4 separate regions of the Homo sapiens genome follow, and all the other regions are linked to region 3. Evidence: promoter capture Hi-C in 16 types of primary human blood cells and fetal thymus (Javierre and others, 2016). All regions are on one chromosome and are shown on one strand. The core of a region is centred on a gene start or on the middle of the fragment in contact, and the rest is flanking DNA. Distances in the headings are between cores, read along the strand shown. Region 1 has its middle 170 kb from the start of RIPOR2. Region 2 has its middle 130 kb from the start of CARMIL1. Region 3 holds the start of ALDH5A1 (aldehyde dehydrogenase 5 family member A1). Region 4 holds the start of LOC102724765 (a long non-coding RNA gene).

Region 1 (6,072 bases), core at 2,069-4,568, 610 kb after region 3:
AACGAGCAGATATAATGCTTTACTGCCTGGGGCCGTTTAGTGCAGGGGCAAACAGCTCAATGGACTAGAACACATCCTGTTATAACATCCTCCAGTGAACTGTAGGAACATCAAGCTGTTACATTACATTCTAAAACTTTGAAATGATGAATCCATGATATCAAGAAAAGATCAATTATGTTCTAATACTCTTTCTGAGAAGACAATTATACCTAAATCATAAAATTTTCACATCTAGAGAGATAAACTATACCTATCCAGAAAATTTTGCTACCTAGCATGATTTCACTATTTAGAATGCCCAAGTTCCCAGAAGTTCTATACAGCTAAGATTTTACTCTATTAAAAGGTCTATGATGCCAAAAATTATTAAACTCTGTTCAACAGAAATACAATTCAAGCATGTGTAATTTTAAATTTTCTAGTAGCAACATTAAAAAAGTACACAGTAACAGGTAAAATTAATAGATTTTACTTAACTCAATCCAAATATGTTAATATGAAATCAATTTTTAAAAATTATTGAGATATTGTGCATTCTTTTCTGCATTATCAAGTCTTTGGAATCCAATGTATATTTTAAACAGAGTACATCTCAATTTAGATCCTACATTTTCATCAGAAAGACTTGATCTATAGATCTTATAAAATGAATAGTTCAAAAAGTAGCTTCTCATGCTCAAGTTGTTCCACACATACCCAAAAAGTTTCCCAATAAAAAGAAGCAAGTACTAAAAATGTACTTTCATGTAGCACTCAAATCCACATTGACACAACTGGTTCATATTTTTTTTTAGAAGAACTGATTTGGCTTTGAAGCAAAAGCATAACAGTTTCAAAACTATGCCTGTCCAAGTTTAGTAAATTCACTAACTTTTGTGTCAACTCATTAATATTACCATTGAATTCAAAGGGGTATTACATAAATCAAAACTCAACTATAAATTATCAATACTAATGAAACATTCTTCAAATTTTACTCAACTTTGCAGTCAATTTTAATGCTGTCAATTAAAAATAAAATCTGCATATTGGTTTTTTAAAAATGTATAAAACTGTTATTAATTGGTGCCATGAAAAGTTTCCATTTTAATATAAATACGTGTGATGGGTTGTTTTCCCCTCAAAAATGAAATGTTAAAGTCCTAAGTCCTAGTACCTCAGAATGTGACCTTATTTGGAGACAGGGTCCTTATGGAGGTAATCAAGTGAAAATGAGGTCATGTAGGTGGGCTCTAAAACAATCTGACTGATGTCTTTATAAAAAAAGGAAAATGTGGACACAGATAGGCACACAGGGAAAATGCCATGTGAAGAGACAGAGTAAAGATGGTCATCTACAAGCCAAGGAGTGTCTGAGGCAACCAGAGGCTGGGAGAGGGCCGGGAACCAATCCTTCCCCAGCGGCTTTAAACGGACCATGGCTCAGCCCACACCTTATTTCAAACTTCTGACCCCTAGAACTTAACAAACGTTTGTTAACAAAAATTGTAATAGGTTTCTAGGGCTGTTGTAACAAATTTTTGTTACATGACCCAGTTTATGTTCCTTTGTTACAACAGCTCTAGGAACCTAATAAAATATTTCTTCCCGTGTAACTAAGTCACAATTAAGCTTTTCCTTTCATTGTGTTCAAATACAAGGTGTGTTCAACATAATCTGACAATACACAGTGATTAAGAGCATGACGCTGGAGTCAGACTTAGGATGAGATTCAAAATGAGTTTTTCCATAGGCACTGTGATATCAGATTAAAAAACAAACTACCCTGCCAGATTTTATCTTCGATTCCTGCATATTTGGCAAGCAATTCTTTTGTTTCAAGAAAATCTTGAAATTAATCATGTAGGTTTTCTTGACTTAACTGAGCATTGGCAAAGGGGACAAGATCAAATTCATGGTCTTTTATTTCTTTCAACAATTTCATACATTGGTGATGATTCATAGTATTTGCAGAAGTTATATTGCTGCAAGAAAAATCACATTAGATACCTAAAACATGAGAAGAAAGACATAATTCTATTCTGGAATGCAGTATGGTATAGAGAAAAGAGCTTTAGAACTAAGCATACCAGGGTTCCATTCTCAACTCATGTTTCCAACAGGGTGACTTTGGGCACGTCCCTTGACCTTTCTGAGTTTCAGATTCCTTATCTGCAAAAAAGGAACAATACCCCCTTCCTACGCATAGTGCTATTGGGAGATTAACTTAGATGGCTTAGTTAAAAGTCCCCAGTTCACTTCACATAATAAATGGCAGTTGCCATCCTCTTTCCTGGGATCCTTTCGGAGAATATCTATCTGTTATTTTATCTCCTGAAAGAGTTCCTGGCTGCCAAGTGTAACTTTTATTCATGCTCTGGGTTCTCCAGCAGCTTGTTAAAAAGTTCCAGACACCTACTAATCACTTTCCTTCTCATGTCACACTGCTTTCACAGCAAAGTCGCTCATTCCACCATACGTTAAGTTGTATGTAAAAATGTACAAAGTGTCTAGCCATACTTGTCTGATGGGTGAGATTCCACAAAATACCCAGCAAAGGGACAATAAATTCGGGGTTGCAGGTTCTTCACCAGCCGAGCCTTGTAGTTCAGGAGCTTCTTCCTTTCTGTTTTAATGAATTGGGCTTTCCATTCCTCTGAAATGACAGGATTTAGATTAGAGTCTCCTCTGCTGGAAAAATCACAGAAAAACACATGTTCTAGCAGATTGGAACTCTTTCAGGAGATAAAATTGATAGGTAACTAAGGCAGAAATAGAACAAGGCTCCATGTCATTAGTGGAGGATTTCCCCGGAGTTTTTATCTTGGAAATTTCAATTGGTTACTAGGAAAATGTTACCAAGCCAGCCAAAGGCACTGAGCTTTCTCCTTGTATATGGCAATTCATTCGGACCCTAGCTGAATACACAGGGTAGGATGCATAATCGTAGTTGGTGTGCATGCACATTTTAAGGGCATTGTAATTCTTGAAATTAACTCTTTACTAACATGAAAATGGCTTCATTATATTTGTAGATTATAACAGGTGTGTTCAACATAATCTGACAAATACACAGTGATTAAGAGCATGACGTTGGAGTCAGTTAGGTTGAAAATCCTGACCCACCACTTACTGGTTGGGCAGCCTTGGGCAAACTACCTAACTTCTCCATGTCTGTATCTTCTCTGTAAATGGAGTCATGATGCCCCTCTCACAGTGCCGTTCATTTGCTTATTCATTCACGTAACCAATATTTATTGTGCACCTACTCTGTGTCAGACGTGGTTCTAGCCACTGGGAATAAAGTGGTGAACAAGGCAAAGCAGGTCCCTGCTCTCATGGAGTGTTCATTCTAGTGAGAGAAGCAAATAATGAACAAGTAAATAAAGTCATTGCAAAGAATGATGCACCGTGAAGAAAATAAAACAGGGCAATGGAACAGAGAGTGGCTGGGGTGAGTGGGATGAGATGGAGGGAATCATTAGACAGGATGGTCAGTGAAGAGGTGACATTTGAGTTGAGACATAGATGAAAAGTTGCTGGTCACATGCAAATCAGGGCCAGCTGCACTCCAGGAAATGGAAACAGCAAACACAAAGACCCAGGGCAGGTGTGCACTTGACACTTTGGGTCTAAGAAACAAAAAGCAGGATGGGCTGATATATAGCAAGCATCAGAGTGACAGGCAGTGAAGGAACTTGAGGAATTAGACAGGACGCAGAACATACAGGGTAGAAGGTCAGAGAGCTGTTACTGTTATTGTTTCTATAAAATTTGACAAACACAGACAAGGATACAGAAAAAATATACAAGCTACCCATCACCTAGACATAATATTTTGGTATATTCAAGACCTTTTTAAATGTATATGTGTGTACTCACGCACATGTGCACACACACACAAACTCACCATCACACAGAATGGCATGATGCTAGTTAACCCTTAATAAGTATGTTTTACCTTCCCAGTCACACTTTTAACTTCTTAAGGACAGAACCTTCCCTCTATTTCTCATGTGGTTACACACTCCGGGAGGCAATGAATATAGACTTAGAGAAGAAAGCAAAGAACGGGACAAAGGTTATCTTCATATTGCAAAGCAGGGCATTTTCTGCCACACTGTTAGACAGGGATCACTTATCAGATACATTAATTTATTAAGTGGACATGTATTGAGCACTTACAATACTAGTGTTGAGGATACACACTTCCCCAATGTCAACCCCAACCCCACTCTTGGACCCAGAGCAGAAGGGCTCCTGCCTAAGACCCCCAACCAGAGGACCCTCCTCTGGGTGCACTAGAGGTCCCCAACTAGAGGACTCTCTTCTGGGCACACTGCTCCCTGATATGAGCATCCACAGTGCCAAGGGGATGTGTCTACATTGAGGCTGCACACACCCCATTAGGAACCATATTCCAAGAGCACCTAAGCCTGGATGACCCACTTCAGGCCTTTCCTGTTCTGCTCTACGGTCTACATGGTGAATCCAGATGATTCTCTTTCTTGGCTCCTCCTGAGGTGCTCTCAGATCTCAACATTTCCTTCATGCTCCATCATGTTTTGAGCTAGAAACCTTAGTTGGTAATCTGCAACTTACAAATCTGGTTTCCCAATAAGATTGCATGCTTCTTGTGGGGAGGGATCATGTCTCAATTACATTTGTATTTACTCTTACAGCATTTAGCAATGTGCCATGCGTGATACTTGGTATCACTTTCATACAAAATATTACCCGTAAATTTTCCACCACTGAAAGTCATTGGAAAGCCTGATGCTCCTCCAGCAAAATCACTCATCATTAGAGCAACCTTCATAGGCAGCCTTCCCCCATTGGGTCTGGTGCAGTCTACTATATTGAGTATTTTATGACCTGTGGAGAAACAAAGAGGTATAGATATTCAAGGTGAAATCTTGAACACCCATAGTTTGAATTCCAAGACAAGGACTTCTGTATACAGTCTGTATAATTGAACTTATTTGATTATAGAAGAATTGATTATATCAAAGGAAAAACAAACAGTAAGATTTTAAAACTTAAAGCTTTCAATAGTATATTTTCTGAATTTTCAAGCGACTAAATTCATCCCATTTGACTTGGTGGATACTAGGTGTCTCATGAAGACTTTTATCTTAATTCCACTCTAGCTCATAGATAGACTGCTTTCTTCTGTCAACTTTTTCCAGGTGTTGAGCCCAAAGGATCAGAAAAAAGTGGATTAACATACTTCCCTGTACCTTTTGCAAATTACATGCAAAGCTCATATTCAAATGATTGTTGGGGCAGTAAGGCCATCTTTTCATATGAAAAGCAGTGCATGATTATATTACATGATATTTCTAGGTGAAAGTAATAAAAGACATTTATTTAATAAATGTAGTTTTGAAGAAATCACTATAGGTGGAATGTAAAATATCTATTGCCTTATGAAAGAAATCTTTGCTCCTGTCACTATCTAGATGACATTATTTCTAATTTGTTTTCTGGAAAAATTATTTGAAAGATAGCTCCATATTTCTAGAACAAGGATATAACACGCTATATTCTTTCAAAATGGAGCTAAAAGATGAACATGTGATGAAATTTCATATAGATATTACCATCCTTCCTATTAAGAATGTTTTCCATTTTTCGTTATCAATGGGGATAAAAACATACCTTTGTACTCCACAATAATGCAAGTGTCCATCTCAGGATGAACACCGTCCATCAAGATCATGAATCGAAGATTTTTGTCCACCTGGAATTTAACAACAAAACCAACAACTGTGAATTTCAGTTTGGTTTTTAATTCAGTATTTGAGAAGGTAATCACCTGTTCTGGAAAGACTGGTCAATTGAACCTCACATTTGAAGAAATTTCCTTATTCAGAACTAGATTTATTACCTGTTCTGTAGAGTTGTACTATAATAGTATGGGTTAATAGAAAGAAAATCATCTTTGCCCAGGACAGTCTGCCTAACATTTGAATCACAAATAGAGGTTGTGTTTATGCAGTATCAGGGACATACCACATTGACCCATTTTTTCCTTAATCTTACGGTGACTATCTCACCTAACATTCATCACAGAAAGCATAACTGGAA
Region 2 (5,937 bases), core at 2,213-4,712, 650 kb after region 3:
ACAGAGAGGAGTAGAGTTTTATGAGGTAAAAATGTCATTCATTCATGCTCTGATGGCACCTCACACCCTGAGGATCTCTTCAAAGACCAGTGGCTGGGGCTTCTAAGCTCAGAGCTGAGGGAGAGGCAAGGATAGGAATGATATAAATGTCAACTATACTTGCAGTCCAAGCAGGGCAAGGAGCCCAAATAAAGACTACTTATGAAGCTAGAAATCCTCCAGAGGGTCATAATCTGAGAAAAAGGGTGGAGGAAGAAAAGGCAACTCATTCAGAATTTTCAGTCTGTATGTACATTTTGCTCCCCGTCTTAGGTATTTTGTTTTCAATGGGAAGATGTTCAGTATTCTGTTCAAGAAAAGGTAAACTCTATGAAGGCCAAGACTACAGTGCCTGTCCCGTGGTAGGTGCTCAGTAAATATCTAGTGAATTAAAGAATATCCTCACACGAACAAAATGTGTACTCCATGGTTAAAAGAAGAAAAATTCACCTACTGTACCCTGTGATACTCAATATCTAAAATCAATCACATAAGCTTCCACTTTAGGAAACTAGAAAAAGGAAAGTAAATTAAATTCAAAGGAAGCAGAAAAAAAGAAATGAAAATTAGAGCAGAAATCAATGGAATTGAAAACAGAAAACTAATAGAGAAATGCAACAAAACCAAATGCTGGTTCTTCGAAAAGATCAAAAAAGTGATAAGCCCACAGCTAGGCTAACTAATATTTTAAAAGAGAGAGAGAGGGAGGATGCAAAAATATTAATATCAGGCTGGGCACAGTGGCTTATGCCTGTAATCCCAGCACTTTGGGAGGCCAAGGCAGAAGCATCACTTGAGCCCAGGAGTTCAAGACCAGTCTGGGCAACAAAGTGAGACCCTGTGTCTAAGGCAGGTGTGGTGGCTCACATCTGTAATGCCAGCACTTTGGGAGGCTGAGGTGGGCGGATTGCTTTGAGCTCAGGAGTTCAAGACCAGCCTGGGCAATACAATGAAACCCCATCTCTACAAAAAATGCAAAACAATTAGCCAGGCATTGGTGGCTTGTACTTGTAGTCCCAGCTGCTTGGGAGGCTGAGACTGGAGAATCACTTGAGCCCAGAAAGCAGAGGTTGCAGTGAGCTGAGATCGTGCCACTGCACTCTAGCCTGGGTGACAGAGCGAGTCCCTCTCTCAAAGGAAAAAAAAAAAACAGACCCTGTGTCTACAAAAACAAAAAATACAATATCAGAAATGAAAGAAGGGACAACACTATGGAACTTATGGACATTAAAAAGATAATAAAGGAATGCTATGAAAAACTCTACGCTCACAAATTTGATAACCTAGGTGAAACAGACCAATCCATTCAAAGACACAATCTGCCAAAACTTGTACAAAAAGAAATAGACTATCTGAGTAGTACTATATATATTAAATAAATTGAATCGGTAACTAAGAACCTTCTAAAACAGAAAGCATCAGGCCCAGAAGGGTGTACTGGTGAATTCTACTATAATTTTAAAGAAGAATTTATACCAATTTTCAAAAGTCTCTTCCAGAAGACAGAAACAGAGGGAATATTTCCTGACTCATTCTATGAGCCCATAACCCTAATACCAAAATCAGACAAAGTTATAACAAGAAAAAAAAACTACAGGCTAATTTCTTTCATGAACATAGATGCAAAAATACTCAACAAAATATTATCAGATATAGCAATGGATAAAAAGAATTATATGCTATGACCAAATGGGATTTATTCCAGGCATGTAAGGCTGGTTCAACATTCAAAAGTCACTAATATAATGTATCAAATCAATAGGCTAAAGAAGAAAAGTCACATGATCACATGCATTTGATAAAATCCAACACTCATTCATGATAAAAACTCTCAGCACACTAGAAATACAGTGAAACTTCTTCAGCTTGATAGAGAACATTTACAGCTGGGCACAGCAGCCCATACCCATTAATCTAAGTGTTTTTGGGGGTCAACACAGAAGGATTACTTGAGGCCAGGAGGTTAAGACCAGCCTGGTCAACATAGCAAAACCCCATTGCTAAAAAATAAAAATAAAAAAGCGCCAGGTGCGGTGGCTTATGCCTGTAATCCCAGCACTTTGGGAGGCTGAGGCAGGTGGATCGCCTGAGGTCAGGAGTTCAAGACCAGCCTGGCCAACATGGTGAAACCCCGTCTCTACTAAAATACAACAATTAGCCAGGCATGGTGGCCTACGCCTGTAATCCCAGCTACTTGGGAGGCTGAAATAGGAGAACTGCTTGAACCCAGGAGGCGGAGGTTGCAGTGAGCTGAGCTCATGGCACTGCACTTCAGCCTGGGTGACAGAGTGAGACTCCATCTCAAAAAAAAAAAAAAAAAATTAGCCAGGCATGGCAGTATGCATCTATAGCCCTAGCTACTTGGTAGGCCAATATGTAAGTATCACTTGAGCCCCCAGTTCAAAGCTGGGGTGACCTATGATCACACCACTGGACTCCAGCCTGGGAGACAGAGCAAGACCCTGTATCTTAAATAAATAAATAAATTAATTAATTAATTAATTAAAACATCTACAAAAAATGAGAAAGTAGAAGCTTTCTTACTAAGATAAGGACAAGGCAAGGATGTCGTCTCTCACCACTGCTTTTCTACATTGCATTGAAAGTTCTAGACAATAAAATAGGGCAAATAAATAAATAAGTGGTATACAAATTGGGAAGAAAGAAGTAAAACTGTTTTTGTTCACAGATAACATGATTGCCTATGTAGAAAATCTGAAATAATCAATTCTTAAATGTGGGCTGCACATAGAGACTTCCTTTCATAGAGACTTCCTTTCAAAGAGTACAGTATGGAAATGATGAAAAAAAGAGTAACTTTAACAGTAAGGAAATGTGACAATCCGTCAATATCAACGGTGATAAATTATGTTAGAATGTAACTTTAATATGATGTGGTCTTCCTCCTGCAAACCCATAATCCCAGTCTAACCATGAGAAAAAAAATCAGATAAATTCCAGTAGAGAGGTAACCTATAAAATACATGGTCTGTACTCCTTGAAACTCAAGGTCATCCAAAACAAGAAAAATCTAAGTAAATATTACAGCCAAGAGAAGCCTAAGGAGACATGATAGCTCCTTAGCTAATGTGATGTGGTATCTTAGATGTAACCCTGAAACAGAAAAAGACATTAGGTAAAAGTAAAGAGACCTGAATAAGCTACTCAGCACATTAAGGCAAGAAAAAAAAAAGTCAAACACATAAGGAGTGGAAAGAAAAAAAATCATTTTTGAAGATACTTAGAACTGACTGTATACATAAACATTCAGAAGAACCCACATATAAATTATAAGACTCTGAGAGTTTAGTACAGCTGTTAGATATATAATCAATAGTTTAAGAAATCAATTTATTCTCACATCAGCAATAAAAAATACAAAAATTGAATTTAAAAATATATCATTTAAGATAGCAGAAAAGGCTGAGGTGGATCACCTGAGGTCAGGAGTTCGAGACCAGCCTGGCCAACATGGTGAAACCCCGTCTCTACAAAAAATACAAGATTAGCCGGGTGTAGTGGCACATGCCTGTAATCCCAGCTGCTCAGGAGGCTGAGGCAGGAGAATTGCTTGAACCCGGGAGGCAGAGATTGCAGTGAGCCGAGATCGTGCCATTGCACTCCAGCCTGGGCAACAAGAGAGAAACTCCATCTCAAAAAATAAATAAATAAATAAAAATTAAAAGATAGCATAAAAAATGAAATATCAAGAAATACATTTAACAAAAGATGATCTCTTTGGAGAAAATTATAAAACTCTATTGAGAGATATTAAGTGTATCTATAAACGAAGAGTTATATTATGTTCATAGATAGGAAGCTCAATATTATGAAGATAATCAATTTACTCCAAATTTATCTGTAGATTTACTATAGTCTCAATAAAACCCCCAGAATTTTTTTTTTTTTTTTACAGCTTAAAAACTTACTCTAAAATTTATTAAGATATGCCAAGGGCCAAAAAGAGAAAAAACATTCTTCAAGAAGAACAAGGTGGGAGATGAGAGAGGATTTGTCCTAGCAAATATCAAGACTTATTGTAAGCTATAATAATTAAGATCATATAGTGTTGGCTCAGTGGTAGATAAAATAATCAAGGGAACAGGATAGAGGCCTGGAAACAAGTCCACATATACACCAACACTTGATAAGTGACACTGTAGATCACTAGGGAAAGGATAAATGTTTCCACTAAACTTGCTGGGGTAACTGGGATCCCATATTGGAAAAATAGATTGGACTCTTTCCTTATTCCATAGATAAAAATCAATTTCAGACAAGTTAAAAGACTTACATTTAAAAGATAAACAATCAAGCTTTTGGAAGGTATTTAGGAGAAATTTTTTATAATCTTGGGACACGGTGGATTTTTTTCAACAAAACACAAAAAGCTCTACCCAAAAGGAAAATTATTGCAATTTTAGATTACACCAAAAGAACATATACACCCCAAAACACAATAAAAGAGTAAAAAGGTAAGACACATAATGAAAATTTGCAACATAAATATGACAAAGGATTTCTATGCAGAATATAGAAGAATGTCTATAAATCAATAAGAAAAAGACAATCTATAAGAAAAATGGGCAAAAAGGTTTGAATAGGTACTTCATAAAATAGAATATCCAAATTGTGACTAACTGTATAAACAGAGCTCAGCCTCACTAGCAATGGGGAAGTGAAAATAAAAACCACAATGAAGTACCACTATACTTACCAGAACAACTAAAATTAAAACAACTGCAAGTACTAAATGTTGATAATAGGAGTATGGAAACTCTCATATGTTACTAATGACAATGTAGTGAGGTTCAATCTCATTGAAAAATAGTGTGGCATTCTACACTAAAACAGAGAATACACATATACTGTCACCTAACAATCCTACTCTTAGCTAAGTCTCAACACTGGAGAAATATGTGCATATGTTCTTCAAGATACATGTACAAGAATGTACATCACAGCATTATTCATATTACATTTGAGTATATTACATTGGAAACAATGCAAATGTTCATCAACAATGAAATGATAAATTATGTATTTATATGTTATGTAAATTATACGCTATAACAGTAAAGTAGCATTCTGTGGAACACAAAAAGACAAATAAACCAATTAAGACTACTTGTAACAACGTGCACCAATGCCCAGAAATAATATTGGATAAAAAGAACAAAACACACACACACAGAGGCAACGTGACTCCATTTAAATAAAGTTCCCTAACAAGAAAACTAAAGTGTATTGTTTCAGAAAATGAGAAAAATATTACAAGAGTCAGGGTACTATATATCTTTAAGGAGAGAGTTTTAATCAGAAAGGAGCACATATGTAGGATGCAATTAAAGCAAGACATGGGGCAAATTTGTAGCTTTAAATGGCTATAATAGAAAAGAAGAACGATCTTAATAATCTTAAGACTTCAACTTCAGATCTAGAAAAGGAAAAGCAAACAAAACCCAAAACAAGTAGAATAAGAAAATAATAACAGGGTAAAAATAAAAGAAGTAGAAAAAACAAAAAAAATAGAAAATCAGTAAAATCAAAAAATGGTTCTTTGAAAAGATCAGCAAAATTGGCAAACCTTCAGGTAGATTGAACAAGATAAAGAGATAAAGCACAGATTACAAAAAAATCCGGAATGAAAGAGGAGATATTACCATTAATCCTACAAATATTAAAAGGACTATAAGTAAATACTATGAATAAATATATGCCAACAAATTAGATAATTTAGGTAATGTGGGCAAATTCCTAGAGCAACACAAATTGCCAAAATGGACTCATAAAGGAATAGAAAACATGAACAAACCTATGACAGGAAAAGAGATCGAATCAGTAATTTAAAGTATTTTCAAAGAAAAACATAGAACCCAGAGGCTTCACTGGTGAATT
Region 3 (6,214 bases), core at 3,278-5,777:
AAGGATGAATAGAAAGTGGGATGATTTGGCTGGGCGTGGCGGCCCACACCTGTAATCCCAGCACTCTGGGAGGCTGAGGCTGGTGGATCACCTGAGGTCAGGAGTTTGAGACCAGCGTGATCAACATAGTGAAGACCCCGTCTCTACTAAAAATACAAAAATTAGCCAGGTGTGGTGGCACGTGACTGTAGTCCCAGCTACTGGGGAGGCTGAGGTGGGAGGATCTCTTGAACCCAGGAGGTGGAGATTGCGGTGAGCCGAGATTGCACCACTGCACTCTAGCCTGGGTGACAGAGCAAGACCCTGTCTCAAAAAAAAAAAAAGAAAAGAAAAAAAGAAAGTGGAATGATTTGACAACAGTTGTCGCCCCAACAGTTTCCCCTGTAAGCTTAACACAGCCATGTGCACAGCCCCAAGGAAAGAAATCCCGCAGCTACCCCCAGACCTGAGGGGCAGTAGGCCCAGCTACTCCTGATTAGTCCAGAGGCCATATGCCTACGTGTTTTGTTTGGCTAACAGGATGTTTTATAAACTTAAATCAAGTTTATGAACTTTTTCTAAATGAGAAAATTCACGTAGAAATCTAGATTTCTGGCTCTCTTAAAAACAAAAGAACTGGCATCATGAACTGACGCTCCCATGTGACACGACAACCAGCTGCAGCCAAAGAGCCAGCTGCCCCCTGATAGAGCATGTCCTGCTCCTCCAGTCCCCACCATCCATGCAATGTGTGCAGGTTTCCACACCCCTTCTGGCCACCAGAGGCCTTTGAGTTTGCCTCCCTGTCACTCTGGGCCTTCTACAGACTGTGCGTGAGGGAGTCACAATTATTAATTGGGACTTTGGATATTGTCTCTCAGAACATCCAAGAGCAGTCAATCAATGGTTACAGGGGAAAAAAATACTGCTAGAAAAGATATCTAACCATATATAATACAACAAACCCATCCAAAAAGCACCAAAGAAATGGGTTCAGAACAGGTGTGGTGGCTCACGCCTATAATCCCAGCACTTTAGGAGGCCAAGGCGGGCAGATGGCTTGAGGCCAGGAGTTCAAAACCAGCCTGTGCAACATGGCAAAATCCCGTCTCTACCAAGAAAAAAACAAAAACAAAAATTAGCCGGGCATGGTGGCATGCACTTATGGTCCAAGCTACTCAGGAGGCTGAGGCGGGAACATCGCCTGTACCTGGGAAGTGAAGGTTGCAGTGAGCTGAGATCACACCACTGCACTCCAGCCTGGGCAAGACCCCACCTCAAAAAAAAAAAAGGAATGGGTTCAGTTACCAAACAATACTAATCCCAAATGTCTCAATTTCTCATTATGCATTTTTTTGTATTTGAGATTCAGAATGACATAAACGTATAAATGTAATAAAATAAGAGGAAATTATTTGCTTAGTGTGATAGTTATGAATATGGTCTTTATATGACAATATTGCTTGCAGTTTTATGAAGTTTGTATTACTTTGGTAACAATAAAAACATCAAAGATATGACTTTAAAGAAAGTTAAAACGTAGCTCACAATATTACTATCTGACAAATAATAAGCATATGGAAATATTTTTCTTTCTGCCCCACACCCCCCTTTCCTAATATAGGTGGCTTTGTTATAAACAAGACAGCATGATTCTACCATTTAGAACTCTTCTGGAAATAGAGACCCAAGGTGAAAAGTAAACATACAGTTACATTAAGGAGTGAGTAGGGAGAATACAGGTTTGAAAGCCAGAGGGTCTCAAGCTTTATGTGGGCCAGTCTAGAAAATGGGGGAGAAGAGGCTGGGCACAGTGTCTCATGCCTGTAATCCCAGCACTTTGGGAGGCCGAGGTGGGCAGATCACCTGAGGTCAGGAGTTCAAGACCAGCCTGGCCAACATGGTGAAACCCCATCTCTACTAAACAATACAAAAATTAGCCAGGCATGGTGGCGCGCACCTGTACTCCCAGCTACTCTGGAGGCTGAGGCAGGAGAATCACTTGAACCCAGGAGGCAGACGTTGCAATGAGCTGAGATCGTGCCATTGCACTCCAGCCTGGGCGACAGAGTAAGACCCTGACTCAAAAAAAAAAAAAAAAAAAAAAGTGAAAGAAAAAAAAGAAAAAGAAAATGGGGGAGAGGATGAATAAGGGTGGGAACTGGGGAGTGGAGGTTCCCAGGACAAGGGCAGCCAAAGGAGAAAGGAGGGAAGAGGTCCCTCTCACCTGATGGTCTTGTCCTTGTAGGCCCTGGTAAGGACAGACACCCAGCCAGGCGCTAGGGGGCATCAGGACAGGCTGGAAGTAAGACAGGAGCCAGGAGGAAATTGTTTACACTCTGAATGGGGGCTTGAAGAGGGGCACAAAACTGAGGGAAAAGGGGAGGGCCACATTGTGAACTTTCTAAGCTCCAGGCGCTTTTGCCTTTGTGAAGTACTTCCTGTCACAAAAATAAGTAAACAATAAATAGAAATCACATTTTACATCTGCATTGGTGTAAGATTAACATATTAATATGCCACCTAAAACTTCTTTTCTTCAGATTTTAGAATAAATTAAACATTTGTGAGTGCTCCTAAAAGTTTTATGGGCCCTTGGCATCGTACCTACTGTGCGTAATGGATAAGTCATCTGGGAAAGGGAGTGGGTACCGTTTGAAATAGAACCTTAAAAAGGTAAGTGGGCTAGGGTAATTTTTGAACAAGAGAGGCAGCCACAATTAACTTGGCTTTTCTGGGCCTCAGTTGATTGAGGCCTCAATTGAATGATTTCCCCAGGCCAGTAGAAATGAGCCCTGTAATCCCAGCACTTTGGGAGGCCAAGGAGGGCGGATAACTTGAGGTCAGGCATTCAAGACCAGCCTGGCCAACACGGTGAAAACCTGTCTCTACTAAAAATACAAAAATTAGCTGGGCTTGGTGGCACACACCTGTAGCCCCATCTACTCGGGAGGCTGAGGCAGGAGAATCGCTTGAACCCGGGAGGCGGAAGTTGCAGGGAGCTGAAATCGCACCACTGCACTCCACCCTGGGTGACAGAATGAGTCTGTCGGTCTCACAAGAACAAAACAAACAAAAAACAAAAACCACCACCAAAAACAAAACAAAACAAAAACAAAAACTCCCTCCGCAGGCAGGAGATGTAAACACGCCAGCTCCCCAGCCCCACCTGTGATACCTACTGGCCCACATCCCTATTAGGACTCCCTGGTTCTCCCCAGTTCCTGCAATAAAATACAGAGCAAAATAGTGTGAAATTGATTAAACTCTACTGTTATCACTTCTGCCATATGTGACTGGCTCAAAACTCAATGGATCTGACTCAGCAAAAGACAAAGTCAAAATTTAAAGTTACTGCCTCGGCATTTTGCAAATGTCCTAGAAAAAAATTCAACGTCCTAGAAAAAGGTGAAAGCTAGCAAGATACTCTCAACGCTGTAGGAGTTGAGAAAGGGAGATATGTAACCTAAAATCAATGCATAGGGCTGGGCTTCATTTGCACCCACAAATTCCCAGCATACGCCTGCTATTTTTATTTTTATCCTCATTAGGTTTTAAGCTTCCCTGCTGCTTTCAGAGTCTTAAGCCCAAGTCTAATTTTTTAACGGATGAAGAATGCTGTTTAAAGGTGCTCAAATACCTTGGTTGGATAGTATGCTCAATCCTTATACCTTGGTTGATTCAATTTTGACAAATGCTTCCATTTACTAGTTGGTGACCCAACTTTAATCTTACTAGTGGCTTGACTAGGGTAGCTAGTATGACTTTGAACGCTATATTGAATTTAATGTGGCAACTGTAATGAGCATTTTACGTTATCTCACAACAAAATGGGGTAGATATGGTTCTATTTTATAAGTGACTGGACTAAGGTTAACCTGTCGGTCACACAGCTTGTCGGCAACAGACTTGAGTTTGGATCCTAGTCTGTTTATTTCCAAAGCGCTGTTATTTATCGGGAGCAACCCTAGGAGAATGCCTAGACACACACCCAAAAAAGCAGCCAGGCAGCAGAACGCGGGGTCACACTTCGACCCCTCAGAGAACGATCGCTCCCAATCAATACTACGTGCTCAGGAGCTACAACTGAAGAAGCGTGATCACGGCCTTGGCATTTAGGGCAGGCACCAGCGCATCTATGGACCGCGCACAAATTCCGGGGATGCCGAATTTGGGGGATGCTAAGGGGAGAGAGTGGGTCTCTAGCAGCGATTGGGGGCTCAGGAGCAGTTAGTGACAAATGAGCACCCGAAAAGTGAAAAGGTGACAGCAGTCCGCAGGTGCATCTACTGGCGAGCCTTCTCCATCCCCGAACCCAACCCTCCCCCGGGAGAAGGTCGCGCCAGGAGAGAAGCCGCGCGGCGCTTAGGGCAAGGTGCAGAGGGCGGCGCGGCGGTGCAGCGAGAAAGACGCGGAGAGAGGGCGCTGCTCTGTGGCTCTGCAACCTTCCGCCAGCTCCCACGCTTTCCCCGCGCGTCCCCGGCGCCTCCTCGCTCCTCTTGCTTCCCCGCGACCCCTGCGTTCCCGTGCGCGCGCGCCCGCTTGCCTGTTTCCTGTCGCCGTCGTTGCCCGGGCCATGGCGACCTGCATTTGGCTGCGGAGCTGTGGGGCCCGGCGCCTCGGGTCGACGTTTCCAGGCTGCCGCCTCCGCCCCCGCGCCGGCGGCCTGGTCCCTGCCTCCGGGCCTGCGCCCGGCCCGGCCCAGCTCCGCTGCTACGCTGGGCGCCTGGCGGGCCTCTCTGCGGCGCTGCTGCGCACCGACAGCTTCGTGGGCGGCCGCTGGCTCCCGGCCGCCGCCACCTTCCCCGTGCAAGACCCGGCCAGCGGCGCCGCTCTGGGCATGGTAGCCGACTGCGGGGTGCGAGAGGCCCGCGCCGCCGTGCGCGCTGCCTACGAGGCTTTCTGCCGCTGGAGGGAGGTCTCCGCCAAGGTGAGAGAGCCCGGATGCAGGGGGCCAGAGCTGGCCGGGGACACGGCGGGGAGCAGAGGGGGCTTTACCCCAAAGTGACACCAGCCGCGTCGCCTCCCTCCTGTGCTCAGTTCCCCAGGGTATACAAAGTGGAAAGTCAGAGCAACAAGGGAGACGACCGACAAATAAGTTTGGAGCTTCCACTTTGAGCCGGGCACTAGGGACACGACCCCTGCCCTCAAGCCTCATCAAGTTATGCACTGCCCAGTAGGGGAGGCAGAACGTGAGCGCCTAATACAAGCGAGCTGCTTGTTATGGTCAACAAGCCTAACCGTGGAGGGGCGGGGAGAAAGGGGAGGGGTGTCAGGGAAGTGAGAGCACGTGTGGCCCTTCAGAGTAGCTGAAATATCTCCGCAGCTGCAGGGAGCCCACGCAGGAGGCTGCTTCAGCGGCCCTTGAGAAGGCTGGTAGTGAGGGCCCCTGGCCAGAATCATGGGATCGGAAACGGAGAGAACTGTAGAAAGATTTGGGTTTTGTGCAGGGGAAGAGAGAAATCCAGGAGCGTTCTCCAGGTTTTCACCCTAAATGGATAAATGCTGCTATTGGCCATTGCATAGAGAACACTGGAGAATTGGGAGTAAGGGGTGGAGGGCCATTAAATGGGAAGAATAGAGTAAGAAGAAAACTAAGAAAGTAGTTTCTTCCTTCTAATATTATATTATTAAACCTGGAGTCAACGCAGTGAAATTTTTTACCGTGTCCTTCAAAGCTCTCCCTCTGAAGGAATGCATCCAGCGATCCCTACGAGTACAAGAGAGTCTTAGCACTCATTCATCCATCAGCTGTTTACTGAGCACCTGCTGTATGCCCTGCACTGTTGGAGGTGCTTGGGATACCTCAGTTAAACGAAAGAAGGATTCTGCCCTTATGGAGCTCACATGGGGTGGAAGGGGAGCAGAAGAGAGATCAGAACTCTAAACAACAAACATAATATCTAAGCAAATAAGTATGTGAGAGATGCTGAGTGCAATATGGAAAAAAGGTAGAAGCAGGAGAGGATCCGGGCCAGAGGGAAGGGGCAAGATGCAGCATCAACAGTGTGACCAGGCATATTCCTCTGCTAGGGCTGCCATAGCAAAGTACCACAGACTGGGTGGCCTGAACAACAGACATTTCTCATTTTACCGCTCTGGAGGGTAGAAATCCCAGATCGAGGTGTTGTCAGAGTTGGTTTCTTCTAAGGCCTCTCATTGGCTTGCAGAGAGCTCAGCTTTTGTCTTTGTATCTCATCAGACCTCAATTTTAGACTCATGGAGTCTGAGATGT
Region 4 (6,390 bases), core at 3,616-6,115, 540 kb after region 3:
GTCTACAAAAAACAAATCTGCTAAACAGAGTTTAAGATTTTTTTATTATTTTATTCTCTTTTTTTTGGTTTTTTGACTGAGGATATTTAGCCAAAGTATTGTGTTCAAATGTTACTTGGATTAATTCTTTTCTTTTTCTTCCATGTAGTTGTGCTATTCATTTGAAATACAGTTCATTGGTTTCTGTTTGCATTCAATTTGCATTTTTTCTCATACTTGTTTATTTAATTTTATTTTTGAATGTATAGAGAATTGGTAACGTTTTAAAACAAACTACAAAAAGGTTTTATATATATATATATTTAGTATATTTTACAAAAGAAATGGGAGTGCTACGCTGTACGGGGTGAGGGCTGGGAATTCTAGATGACTTTCTCTCTGTTGTATGTTTCTGTATTGTTTGATTTTTATACAACATGCGCATATTAGCTTTGTATTAGATGAAAACAAAATCAAGACATATTTTTCAGTGCTACTGCCCAAGTTTACAGTTTTGACAACTGTTGGGGGGGTGGGTAGGGTAGGAGGGGGTAAGGGGTGTGTATATAGTTAACATGTTCTTACGCAGTGAAACAATTTCTTGGATCTTGCTATTTCAGAGGAAAAACTGGTACTCACATAGTGGGTTGAATCTAGGCTAACATATTTCAAGATGCTTTGCATTCCCTAAGATCCTCCTTACCCCCAACTTGATACACTAGCTTAATGCTTCTGAGAAAATTTGCTATTCTGGTAATTTTCTGTTACCAACCAGAGACCAAGTTATCATTCTAGTGATTAACTTTTGGGCTCTTTAGATCCTTCATCAAACAAACAACCTGAGAATTACAGACTTCAGAATCCATCGAGGCTCTGAGTTCTCTAATCCCTCTGCTGGTTTCATTTTCTTTTTTATGTTTGTTAGCTGTATTTGTATTTGCTGCTTCTTCCTCTCCTTTCCTTTTCCCTCCACACCCTCTCTTTTGTCCATCCTCGGCTGGAGACAGCTAAAATATCTGTCCAGATCATGTACATACAAAGAGAGCACTTTCTCAACCAACGGACCTCCCTGAATTATTCAAAGTACCTTCCATTCTCCAGTTTCCCATCATTTTTCTTCCTTGACAGTATAAACTGGAATTGGACATTTGGCAATTGTACCCATGGATTTAATCATTCAGGCAGGAAGGAAGAGGGTAAGCCTTCTACAGAAGCAAGTATTCTTCTGAATGATGAGAAAATAGGTAACAACATGTTTGAAGGTATATAAATAATTTTTATGCCAGTATAAACACTAGGGTCCCTAAAACAAAAAGCATTCTCTGTAATTGGCAGAGCTGTTGGTAAACAAGATTCAGAACTGGGGAGAAACCCAGGCTTTGTGGGGCCCAGCCGCCTGTTGTCTGGGATGAGGCTGTTAATGGATAAACTTAGCAGGTGTCTAGACTGAAACCCAGGAAAATATGTGACCTATGAATTATACAGAATGTTCTAAAAGGTTTCTTTCTTTTTTATACTTGGGGTAAACTCCTCACTGACCTCCTCTCAAATCTTTAAGCTTGTAGCTTAAAAGAAACAGAAACCAAGAGAGGAATTTTCCTGGTATATCCTTCTCCACTTCAGAGCAGAGAAGCCCAGCCTGAAGCCTAAAATCGCAGCACAAGGGATTTGTCAGTCAGTAGCAATTCTGTTGGTCAGAACGGCAGCAAGAGACCAAATCAGCAGGTTGGAAACGGCAGCAACACGGTTTCTGCTGTGGTCTGGGACACTTGGGTGCTTGTATCCACGCTGAAAAGCTAAATCTGCAACCGTAGTGCCTCCCCATACCGGTACAAAATCCCAGAGTGGAGGAGGCCGGGGGAGAAACATGAGTGTGGTCAAGGCCTGACCCTTGCCAGATAACAGGTGAGCCAGGACAGAAAGCTGATAGGAAGCTGGGCTGCTCTGTAAATTGACGCTGGATCTCTCTGCAAGCAGGGGCCATCTGCAGAGTGGGTAGCCTTGTGCAGATGGAGGACTGTGGGAGAGGTGCCCACATATTCTTCCTATCCCGGGCCCCTCTGTCTCCCTGAGATCTTGCCTTCAGGTTCTCATCTGAAGACAGTGGTATTTAGAAGAAAATCTAAGACTGTTTCTATGAATCAGAGTGCCTTCCAGAGCTGCACGTGCAGTGAGGAATAGCCAGCTGGGTTCTTACCTCCTTGTGTAGAATTGTCAACCCAGGATGGTGGCAGACAGGAGAGCCCTCCTTCGAAGTCCCACAGCCCCAACCACAGTCCAGGGCATCGTCTGTGGGATTCAGACTGCTGCTTGACCAGGTCCCCTTGCCCAGTCACAATTAAGAATGCCATCACACTGAGTCAGGAGAATGGCCGGCGAAGCAGAACAAGACAATTAAGTCACATTGACACTGGGAGGAAGTCGCCAGTGGTATCTCTGAGACAGCAGATTCCCTAATCTCAAGTGCATATCAGCTTTGTCACTGTTGTCTTTTCAGTGGGACAGAGAAAACTCATTTCCATTCCTCTGATTGGAGTCCACAAAAAGTGCTAACCAGTGGCTGCCTCCATCAAAGCTCTACCTAACAGAGTTCAACGGGTTTTTGTTTTGTTTTGTTTTGTTTTTTGAGACAGCATTTGCGCTGTCACCTAGGCTGGAGTGCAGTGGCATGATCATAGCTCAGTGTAACCTCCAGTTCCTAAGTTCAATCAATCCTCCTGCCTCAGCCTCCTGAGTAGCTGGGTTTACAGGCACACACCACCATGCCCACTAACTTAAAAAAAAATGTTTATAGAGACAGGATCTTGCTATGTTGCCAGGCTGGTCTCTAATTCCTGGCCTCGAGTGATCCTCCCACCTCAGCCTCCCAAAGCATTGGAATTACAGGTGTAAGCCACCACGCTAGGCTAGAGTTCAACTTTTTAAAGAGGCGAAACAAGTTCCAAGTGGGCTCTGTCATCTGGTTGCATTTACTTGTACTGAAAATAGCCTGGAGATCCTCTGTGGGGGCAAACACTCCATTTTCCCAGAAGAACAGGAGTCACACCCCTAGGGGCCAAGATCAGTTTTTCCCTAGTGTATCTGTGTTGCCTCCTGTGTGGTGTGGTGTAAGCCAGCTGAATGTGAGGGTAGGGTGCCTGGCTGAGGAAGATGGGGATGCCTTCTCCAGTATGACATGTCTCCCATTATTTTGGGAAAAAATGTGGAGGTGGCAATGGTAAGCCCTTCATACTGCCTCAAATGCCACTATTACCATTTTTAGGCCCTCAGCTCCCAATAGCTACATTGCCAGGAACTGTGCTAGGCACTTGACATATTTTATGTCTTTTAATCCCCTCCAATAACAATGGGAGGTGGGTGTTACTGTAATAAGCATTTTAAGGTTGAGGAAGTGGGCATTCAGGGAGGTGGAATAAATTGCCCACAGGCCAACAGCTAAGAAGTTGTAGAAGCAGGATTTGAAGCCAAATCTCCTGGTTGTCAAAGCTTATATACTTTTCAGGGTTTCTTTCCTTTAATCGCCCACCCCAACTGTGGCAGACTAAAGGAAAGAAAGGCTCTCGGGGCATTCAGTTATCTGTGCCCACCCCTCATTCCCGTGCCCTGCCCTGACCCTGCTGTCATCATGTAGAAGGCCCAGGCACCCACGGGCTGTTGCTGTGTCTATACTCCTCTTTACCTGGGCAGGTCACAGGTAAGCAGCTTGACAGGGTTTACAGGACACCAGATAGGTCCTTCTCCCGAATGTCTGCTCAGTATCACACATGTGTGTCTTTGTAGTGACCTTTGGCCTCTTTTAAAATTCAAATATCCCTAAGAAGGGTAACATATTACCGTTCTCATACCTTGGTTTGATTATTATTATTATTTTTTTACTACACTGCTATGGACTAGAAAAGAAAATAAATATTTCATTACAGATTCTGGGGGTGAAAGGAAGAAGTGAGGAAGGCTTAGGGAAGATGAACTTTGGGATCCATTGCTTTACTATGAGTTTAATTTTGATGGAACCCAAACGGTTATTGAGTAGATGAGGTACCAGGTATTTTACTAAGGGTTACAGGCATGCAGAGCTTATTAAGGATTTGTTCTCACCTGGGGAGATTTGAATATGGTCCGGGTATTAAATAATATGTGGGGATCATTGTTAATTTTATTACGCAGTTATGTAGAAAAATGTACTTATTTTTTAGAGACGCTCTTACTAAAATGTCATAATGTCTGATTTATTTTTAAATGTTTCAACAGGAAATTAGATGAAGCAAATATGGCAAAATGTTAATAATTGTTAAATTTAGGTGATAGATATATAAGATTCATTATACTATTTTCTCAACTTTACTGAATGTTTGAAAATTCTCATAATAAAAAGTAAAACAAAAACAAACAAATGAGCAAACAAAAAACCTAAAGCTTTCCAGTAGCTCAAAATCGAAGTTCTATTGCAAAGATGACAATTAGGTTTTGTAGTAAGCAGAATTTGAAGATGGCCCCACGATTCTTGCCCCTTGGCATACAGGTTCTGTATAGTTCTTGAACCTTGGGTATAAATATGATGAGATTTTACTTCTGTGATTAGATTATGTTATATGGCAAAAATGAGGGATTTTTCAAATGTAATTAAAGTCCTTGATCAGTCAATTTTTAACTAATCAAAAGAGAGATTATCCTGGGTGGGCCTGACCTAATCAGGTGAGCCCTTTAAAGAAGAGTCTATAAGCAGCAAAAGACCCTTGTTGGCCTTGAGGAAGCAAACTACCATGTTATGGAGAGGGTCATGTGGCAGAGAACAATGGGTGGCCTTTAGTTGCTGAAGGCCTCAGGCCTACAACTGCAAGGAACTAAATTCTGCCCACAACCATTGAGCTTGGAAGGAGACCCTGAGCCTTAGATGAGATTGCAGCCCCAGAGAACACCTTCATTGCAGCCTTGGGAGACCCTGAGCAGAGAATCCAGCTAATTCATGCCCATGGAAGCTGTGAGATAAAAAATGTATGTTGTTTTAAGGCAATAAACTTGTGGTAATTTGTTACAAAGCACTAGAAAACAAACATAAATTTCAACCAGTGAGGCAATTCTAATTGATTAGACATGGCAGCTTAAGGCACTATATTAGAAAGGATTCCAAGCCAGGGCCTGGCCCCCGTGGGGAAAAAGGAGAGAGCTGTGGTTGATTACCAATGTCTGCATGGGCATGGAAATGGACAGTGGTGGCACATGTCCCTCCTATCGCCATTCAAGGTCCCTCTGTGTATTTAAAGAAAAGGGGTTTACTAATTTATTTTTCTTAATGACAAAATAACCCCAAAGGATTATATAACTTGAGTCCCCAAGTTGGAGGAAACGCTGACCTATGAGAAAAGCTTCAGAGAAAGAAGACAGGAAACGTTATCAAAGCAGATTTTAGCAGCTGCAAAATATTGTTGAGGGCCACCCTTGCAGGCTGACATTTGCAGTGATAAGCGTCCTTCCCTCGCAGGTGTCTTCACTCTTTCTCCCTTTCCACTTTCTCTGATTCGCTGCCTGCAAACATGCACAGGTCTTTTGTGAGTTGGAAAATGCAACCCTCCAAAAATGTCACTTGATCCTGTTCCTGTTTCTAACTCACACTGACTCTCATGCAGCAGGGCTCTTGACCATCCTGGAAGAATATCAGAATTCCCTCCTTAGGCATTATGCCAAAGAGGTCAGGACCAGCCTGCTTAATGTTGAGCTTACATTCAACATCTATTAATATATCATTTCATATTAAAACCATGCAGAAATCAGCACAGTATTCAGATGTTAGTCTCAAAATTTAAGTGAAATTTCTGTAGTAAAGCAGGCTTTTCTGATAACTCTTATTTTAAGAGTATAGGCCGACTTCCCATCCATACTAGTGAAACCATGCAGATCCATAATCCAGCTTTTCTCAGTGACGGATTCCATAACGGAGGTATTGGATTAAAACTTAGGATCACAACTAATTTCCTACAGATATAGAATGAAGTTTCATAAAAACTGGAATTTAAATTTAAGGTACGCGCAAGTAAAAGAAACATGATCAAGAAGGTAAAGGCCCAGAGAAAACTGATGGCTTCTTCAATTATATCAAAGAAAAAGAAGTATTTTGCTTGATGCAAATTGTTTGCTTGTCTTTGAATTGTCATTTGGAATCCAACCAGCTCAGCTTGCCTCCGAAACTAGTAGACTGTGACTATTTTGGATACATGTTCCTAAGCCACTCATTCATCTTAATTTAATTGTCTATACCAGGGGCTTTTAACACATAAGGAAGAGTTGCCAACATATAACTAGGCATCTAGGCATAAAGAACACTGTGTGATAGACTTCTACTTTTTTTTTTTTTTTAGATGGAGTTTCGCTCATCGCCCAGGCTGGAGTACAATGGCACAATCTCCGCTCACTGCA

What was found. Contacts are between HindIII fragments. The CHiCAGO score rates a contact against its expected background, and 5 or more counts as called.
Region 1: a fragment that was not itself captured here is called in contact with the fragment with the promoter of ALDH5A1 in region 3 in 1 of 17 cell types (neutrophils); the score reaches 6.9 in neutrophils.
Region 2: a fragment that was not itself captured here is called in contact with the fragment with the promoter of ALDH5A1 in region 3 in 2 of 17 cell types (non-activated CD4 T cells and total B cells); the score reaches 6.8 in non-activated CD4 T cells.
Region 4: a fragment that was not itself captured here is called in contact with the fragment with the promoter of ALDH5A1 in region 3 in 1 of 17 cell types (fetal thymus); the score reaches 8.4 in fetal thymus.

Annotation. Positions count from the first base shown.
Region 1 is chr6:25,103,857-25,109,928 of GRCh38, forward strand. It overlaps the pseudogene CMAHP. Among named protein-coding and RNA genes, the nearest start is that of RIPOR2, 170 kb to the left of the region's middle. The HindIII fragment of the contact is 3,413 bases long and covers 1,613-5,025 here.
Region 2 is chr6:25,142,589-25,148,525 of GRCh38, forward strand. No RefSeq gene overlaps it. Among named protein-coding and RNA genes, the nearest start is that of CARMIL1, 130 kb to the right of the region's middle. The HindIII fragment of the contact is 1,781 bases long and covers 2,573-4,353 here.
Region 3 is chr6:24,490,442-24,496,655 of GRCh38, forward strand. ALDH5A1 (aldehyde dehydrogenase 5 family member A1) reads left to right here and starts at 4,528. Exons shown (of 10, transcript NM_001080.3): 1 at 4,528-4,909. The coding sequence starts at 4,556. It also overlaps a transcript of GPLD1 not described here. RefSeq lists a silencer at 4,534-4,923. The HindIII fragment of the contact is 3,166 bases long and covers 3,537-6,214 here.
Region 4 is chr6:25,033,806-25,040,195 of GRCh38, forward strand. LOC102724765 (a long non-coding RNA gene) reads right to left here and starts at 2,336. Exons shown (of 2, transcript NR_187803.1): 1 at 2,177-2,336. It also overlaps a transcript of RIPOR2 not described here. The HindIII fragment of the contact is 950 bases long and covers 4,391-5,340 here.